Linked DNA regions of Homo sapiens: region 2 is linked to region 1. Evidence: promoter capture Hi-C in 16 types of primary human blood cells and fetal thymus (Javierre and others, 2016). All regions are on one chromosome and are shown on one strand. Each heading gives the region's core, a stretch centred on a gene start or on the middle of the fragment in contact. The rest is flanking DNA. Distances are from core to core; before and after follow the strand shown.

Region 1 (3,435 bases), core at 286-2,785:
GGACCAGCATCCTTCACACATAACTAGTTCCTGAACCTTTACAAACAAATCCTAATTTCCAAGGAAACAATCTCATCAAATGCTGCCCGCTAGAATACATATTGTTCTTTCTGGAAACATTACAATAAGATTTTCATGATTACAAACCCCAACTTCCTCTTTAATATTCAATATAATCTTAAACTCATTTATTTAAGTGGAAACTGTATTTTTATAATGGCTCTAAAAATTCCTGGTTAACTTATTTAGCACCAATATAATAATTTCTTTTTTTGTTGTGTAGGAGGAGGGTGATCATTAACTGACTGTCAACGTGTGTTAGGGGCTTCTTAGGAACGGCTCTAAAAATTCCTGGTTAACTTATTTAGCACCAATATAATAATTTCTTTTTTGTAGTCTAGGAGGAGGGTGATCATTAACTGACTGTAAACGTGTGTGTTAGGGGCTTCTTAGGAATGTTCGTCTTTCTGCTTTCTACTGATATACCCTATAAGGAGCATGTTTTAAATTTTTTTTTTTTTTGAGACTGGTAAATTTTAGTAATGTCCAGACTTCCAGGCTGGTATTTTGAGGGGCTGGGAATAAAAAGAATATCAAGCAGCTTATAATCAATATTCTCTTCTCTTTGCATTAGGAAGCTGGAGTTTTGTGTGCAGGTTACGGGATTTGTTTTGAGATGAACGAACACCTTAATTCTCTACCAGGAAAACAATATTAACACATCTGTGGCAACTGCTGACATAAACATACAAACAGGAAGAGAATGCGATTCTAGTGCTTAGCCTGGTGGCCTTTAGAACAGAATTCTTGCTTTCCTCCTCTTCACTAAGGATATTCGAAATACTCTGGGCAGGGTGGACATTAGTCCCTCGCCTCCTCCCTAATGAAATAAACAAGTGTCCACATTTTAAATGTGACGGAGTGTGAGGAAACTGCAGAAAAGCTCCTAAGATACACACTGAGTAACAGTTCTCATCTGTTCTGTAGACACACGTCAGTTTGGGAATTTATGATTCACTGTCCCACCGTGAAGTTTTTTGTGCACTTTATGTTGAGCTATGTGGCAGCTAAGGACTGTCCTGTTTGCTGAAAACTGCAGCCTAAAGTTATTTTTCAAAGTTACGGGTAGTGTGGCATAGAAATCCATATGTTATAAAGTGGAAACAAACAAACAAAAAAAACTGGGTTAGCATGAAATAGAGCCAACAGAAATCAGAATGAGCAACAGCCTTCCACTGCCGGCCACTCACCTTGTTGAATTTTAGTCACTAGCTGATGGCGTGCTAGAATCCGGCTCATCCTGTAAGGAGAGCGTCTTGTAGTCTGATCAAATCGCAAGTACATCTCCTGGCCCTCAGGTGTCATGGAATTTAGGTAGTAGCAGCCTGAGGCTGGGGTCCTGGGCACCTGACTGAACATCTCGGCAGATTTCCTATTGCCACCTCAGTCTGCCTGTGGCTGTTGCCGTCTGTCTCCAGTCTCAGTCAAAGAGCAAGGCACCCAGCCCAGGACAGCTCAACAGACCCAGCGATTTTTAAAAAGAAAGAGGAGTGCCAAAGCCACAACTCAGAATTCCAACCCCCGGGGCCCTCACGTGACCTCGGGAACCAATGAGAGGAAGAGAGGAAAATGGGAACGTTTGCAGTCAGCCCTAAGCCCCGACCAGAGGCAGTTCCAGCCGCCAGGGTCCCTCACACAACGCTGAAAGCAAAATACACGTATTTGACGTGCCTCAGAGCTGACGAAGCACCCAAAAGCAGCCCTCACTAAAGGAGTCGAAAGAAAAAGAGAGAGGGAAGGGCAAAACAAGTAGAAGACAAACAAGTCCAGGGCTCAGGAAACTTTTCAGCCTGTCAAAGTTAGAGAAAGCTCCTTCGCTTTCTACAGGGCAGCAGCAGCCAGGTAAAAGATGGACCTGATAAATCTCTTAAATTTAAAAAACACAACACAACAAAAAAAAACTACTTCAAACAAGCATCAACAGCTGAGCGTAAGCCACCACCTTCATTATCAAGAAACAACTCAAATAAAAACTTTTCCAGTGAAAAATAAACTTCAAGGGCTTTAACACCAGGAGTGAATACACCACAGATCCTGACCCTCACGTGATGGGAATTGGAGGGCTCTTACAGATAAGACTCAGAGAGGCAAAGTACACACGCGTTACGTATTAAGCATCCTTTCCTCTTTGATTTCTCTACTTCCCCAATTTTTAATCACCTAGAGGTAAAATACTTAGAAGGTGCCTATCACATTTAAGACACTGAATCATTTAAGACAAGAATCACTGCAGAAGTTGCAAAGGTACTTCAAAGATACTGTCATCAACCTGCTAAGGACCCATTGAGAAGTTATACAAAAGCTTCTAACATGAGGCCATATATATGTCTCAAAAAGGACGCAAACACAATGCTAGGTGAGCAATATTATTTTTGACTGGGGTGATGATTGCAAGCCAGATAGAGAAAGAGACATTTGGATAGGCTTTTTAAAATGGGGGGAATTCTGATAGGCAGAGGCTGGGGAGGGCTTTGCAAGAGACTGTAGGTACCCATGTGTGCAGATCCAGAACCAGAGTATATGGTTTAAGCAAACTGCTAGTAATTCAGTTTGGCCATATCTGAGTGTGTGTGTATATATATACGTGTATATATATATGTGTGTATATATATGTGTATATATGTGTGTATATATATACATACACACACTGAGTGACATATATGTATATGTCATTATAATTTTCCCTGTTTTTCTTCTTTAACATTGTTTGATGTGAAGAGAAAAAGTCCACAGAAAACATGTTATCAAATTCTGAGCCTGGGGCTGAAAGAATAAAGTTCTTTGATACAAAAAGTATATGACCAAGTTGCTTCTACATTTGGCTGACGGAAACATAGCCTGGCTGGGAATTTATAGTCTAATAATGAGAAATTATTTCTACATTATTTCCAAATTAAAAGTTTAACAGGATTTAAATTAGGACTTTGATTCTTCTTACTCTGGCTCTCCGAGGCCCATAAGCCTTAACAACTTTCCCTGAGGGAATTGTTGCTAGCCTGATTCTGAGAAGCAGCTCGTCTTGTATAACTGTCCCGCTATGAGAATAAACAAGTTAAGCACGATCTCTGCAGCCCAGCATGTGACAATTGCCTACTACCTCACGTAGTTGGTAATTGTCAGCCTCTTCGGGTGGTTACACAAGAGTCATCATGTCTTTGTTTTCAGGTTGGCTTCATGGCAGGAAGGGAAAGAAAGATCTATGGGGCCATACTGTGCACTTTCCATTCTTATTTAGGATTTGAGCAGCAGTTTTTCTGTTCCATAGCATCGTCTGTGGAAGGTGAAAGGGATCTGAGACCTAAGGAACTGCTCGGCAGAAGCTCGAATGGAGAAAGGTCGAGCACCATATTGCAAAGTTGGCTGCCTGGAAGGTTC
Region 2 (4,025 bases), core at 703-3,202, 640 kb before region 1:
CAAGATCTCGCTTTGTTGCCCTGGCTGGTCTTGAACTCCTGGCTTTAAGCAGTCTTACTGCCTCAGCCTTCCAAAGTGCTGGGATCACAGACAGGAGCCATTGTGCCTGGCCTCTGATAGTTCTCATTGGGTTTTGTTGTCAGAGTTATGCTAATTAGTTGCTTAAAACTAGTTGGGAAGGATTCCCTTGTTTTTCATTTCTTGGAACTATTTGTATGACATGGGAAATATTTCTTCCTTTATTTGACAGGACTCACTAGTAAAGCCATCTAGACTTGGATATTTTTCCTTGTGGAAAGATCTGTTAATGATTGATTTTGTTTCTTAATCATTTTTTTCTTTCTTGAGTTAGTTTTGGTAATAAGATGTAGTTTCTCAGCTTTATCTACATTTTCAAATGTTATATTATCAAATTTATAAGATTGACCTGTGATTTTTGACTTTGTTGATCCTACGCTTGTTTTCTTTTGATTCATTGATTATTAAGAAGTGCTTTAAAAAATGTAAATGTCTGGAGCTTTTCTTGTTATCTGTTTTGTTAAGCTTTTTGTTGAAGTATAACATACATTCAGGAAAGTGTAAAACTTATGTCTTTAGCTCTATATGACTTCACACAAAGTGAAAATACTTGTGTAACTAGCATCTTAGAAGTATCTTTTCACCCCTTTTTCCGTTAACATTTGTCTCCCAAAACATCACTGTCCTGACTTTTACTGTCATAGATTAGGTTTCTCTGTTTTCGAGCTTATAAATGTAATCATACTCTTATGTAGTGTTTTGTGTCTGGCTTCTTTCACTTTGATGTGTGTGTGTGGGTGTGTGGGTGTGTGGTGTGTGGTGTGTGGTGTGTGTTGAGACAAGGTCCACTCTGTCATTCAGGCTTGAGTGCAGTGGTGTGATCATGGCTTGCTGTGGCTTTGACTTCCTGGGCTTAAGCAGGACTTCCACCTCAGCTTCCCGGGTAGCTGGGACCACAGGTGCACACCACTATGCTTGGCTAATTTATTTTTATTTTTTGTAGAGATGAGGTCTCACTGTATTGCCCAGGCTGGTCTTGAACTCCTGGGCTCAAGTGATCCACCTGCCTTAGCCTTCCCAGATGCTGGGATTACAGATGTGAACCATCATGCCCATCCAGATGTTTGTAATGTTAATCCATATTATTGTGTGAGGCAATGATTTATTCTCTCATGGCTGTGTTTTTTTTTTTTTTTTTTTTTTTGCCCCCATTGTATGACTATACTACAAATTGCTATTCATTCTAGTGTTGATGGTCATTTGTGTTTTCTGTTTTGGCAACTGAATGGTATTGCTGTGAACATTTTTTTATATGTCTTACGGTGGACAAACTATACGTTTCTATTGAGTAAATACCACAGAGTGAATCTGGGGCCTATTTATCTTTTTTTTTTTTAACTTGATATTTAGCTTAACGGGTTTTAGTGTTTGCATGACATAATTTTCCATCCTTTTACTTTCAGCATGTATCCACTTTTTTCATTGTCTTTTAAGGTGTTTATGTTGAAATTTAAAAATCTTTTCTTTTAACCTGATTGTGTATATTACATACACATATAGTACTTAGTATGTGCTAAGCAATGTTGTAGGTACTTTATATATAAATACTTACACCTCTTAGTTTTCATTTGGCTAATTTGCCCTTATTTTACTCTGCACTTAAAAATTATACTCCTTGGTTGTAAACTTCTAGATTTGCAGTTATATTCTTTCTCTGCTTTGAAGATAACATTTTGCTGTCTTCTGGCTTATGTTGTTGCTGTTGAGAAGTCACCTGTTAGTTTAAATGCTATTCCTTTCAAGGTACTGTGTGTGCTCTAAATTTTGTTTGTTTTCTGGAATTATTATTATTTTAAATTTAACCCTGTTTGGCTTACTGAATTTGTAGGTTGGTATTTTATGATATTCTCTGTAGGTATTTGGCCTCTGCTTCAATCTAGTCCTTCTGGTACTCTCATGAATCCCATGAGTGAATCTCTCATTCTTCTCTCTCTATAACTTCCATGAATTGTAGGCTACATTTAGGCCTTTCTATCCTTATGTATTTCAGGTGTATGTTTCACTGTGTTGCACTCCGGATAATTTCTTATGACCTTTCTTTCACTTCATTCTTTCTTTTTTGAGACAGGTGGAATGCAGTGGCGCAATCTCAGCTCACTGCAACCTCTACCTCCTGGGTTCAAGCAGCTCCCCTACTGCAGCCTCCCGAGTATCTGGGACTACAGGGGTGTGCCACCACACCTGGCTGATTTTTGTATTTTTTGTAGAGATGGGATTTTGGTATGTTGCCCAGGCTGTTCTTAAACTTTGGAGCTCAAAGTTTAAGCTCAAAAGGCCTGCCTTGGCCTCCCAAATGTGCTGGGATTACAGGCGTGAGCAATCCCACCTGGCCTTTAATGGTTTTTCGTATCTGCGAATACATTGACCTGTTGAATTTTCAATTTCAGTAATTGTATTTTTTCATTTTTAGAAGTTCTATTTAAAAAAAATCTTCTAGTTTAGTCTTTATAATTTTTTTTGTTTCCTGTAGATATTTTTGGAATTGTCTTTTATTTCTTTAAGATTATAGTAGTTTTACAGTCTTTGATAGACACAAAAATTGTGTCTGTTTTTGTTGTGTGGTATTTCTGCTGGTTCTCCCTCATAGTTGCTTGGTTATTTTTGACTTGATACTTGCTCATTGTTCTAGAAACATCATAGTGGGGATTCTTTGATACTTAGGATGAAGGCACCCTTCTCTAGGCAGGACTTGGATTTACTTATGTTAGGTGCTTGGGGCTGTTATTAACCAGGGGTCTGTGAGTTCATGTTTTGAGATTCTCTGGGCCACTTAGGTCATGTCAGCCCCAGCAAGTGTGCAGGCCCATGGCCAAAACTAATTACCTGTTCCTTCCCTGTATTCATGTTGCCTTTCTCTGTTTAGCACCAAGGCAGCCTTCTCAGCGGTTCCCTCTAGGGGGTGGGGCTGGGGAAAAGAGGTGTTCATTTCTAGTTTACCCTCTCCTTTGCAGGTATATCTTCTTTGGGTAGGGTGGTGGCCTACATTAATGTCAGGAGAGTTTCCTATTTGACTGTCTGCCTTGATATGTTCAGATTTACTTCTGTTCCCCTTGCCCTATAAGACCATCAAAACTGAATCCCACATTTGTCAGAAATGAAAAATGCTTTCAGAGTATAAGTAGCTATAATGTCCCAGTGTTCCCACTTACTTCCCTGGATTCCTATTTTCTCTTAGGTTTTAGTTTGAGTACTTTGTGGTGCTTTTAAAAAGTATTTATTTTTTATTTTTCTCTAGCTTACTATTATTATTATTATTTTTAGTTGGAGGGTTAGGACAAATAACAAAGCTTGCCACTGAGGAAATGAAAGTAAAAATAAGTTTTGTTTTTCTAAAAATAATTTGGGGAAATGTTCAATAGAGTGATTTTCATTAAATGGTAAAGTAAATTACTATAAATTAGGAGGTAGTTACAAATTTTGGTTGGTGGGGAAGGTTACCATTTATGTTTGTTAAGAATGTTTATATCTATTTTTTGGTTTGCATCTAATAGTTTTCTTGTTTCAGGGGTAGAAATATTTCTGTCATGGCTCATTCAAAGACTAGGACCAATGATGGAAAAATTACATATCCGCCTGGGGTCAAGGAAATATCAGATAAAATATCTAAAGAGGAGATGGTGAGACGATTAAAGGTGAGTAAAATTCTATTCTTTTTTACATCTGTGTAGGGCAGAGGTCCCCTGTGGAAATCACATGGGGCTATAATGTATCTTGTTGGGGTAACTTAAAAAAGCAAAGCAAAGCAGCAAATGGCATAGAAAAGATCTAAGGGAGTAGAGTATATAAGGTACAGTGGGGATTATTTGGCTATGATTAAAGGGACAGCAATTAGGTGAAGCTTAGATTTTCTAGGATCTCCTATACTTGGGTATAAAGAACAAGTCTACAATACTCATATTCCTTATTGTCTATACAAAGTTGTCTCCTTTCTTCTATATAGTTTCTAA

The links. Contacts are between HindIII fragments. The CHiCAGO score rates a contact against its expected background, and 5 or more counts as called.
Region 2: a contact is called between a fragment that was not itself captured here and the fragment with the promoter of STARD13 in region 1, in 1 of 17 cell types (endothelial precursors). The highest score is 5.0, in endothelial precursors.

Annotation. Positions count from the first base shown.
Region 1 is chr13:33,284,220-33,287,654 of GRCh38, forward strand. It overlaps STARD13 (StAR related lipid transfer domain containing 13), which reads right to left and starts at 1,536. Exons shown (of 14, transcript NM_178006.4): 1 at 1,251-1,536. The coding sequence starts at 1,419. RefSeq lists enhancers at 1,639-1,698, 1,709-1,838. The HindIII fragment of the contact is 3,531 bases long and covers 1-2,360 here.
Region 2 is chr13:32,645,171-32,649,195 of GRCh38, forward strand. PDS5B (PDS5 cohesin associated factor B) reads left to right here. Exons shown (of 35, transcript NM_015032.4): 2 at 3,584-3,710. The coding sequence starts at 3,603. Among named protein-coding and RNA genes, the nearest start is that of PDS5B, 61 kb to the left of the region's middle. RefSeq lists an enhancer at 1,001-1,110. The HindIII fragment of the contact is 2,822 bases long and covers 542-3,363 here.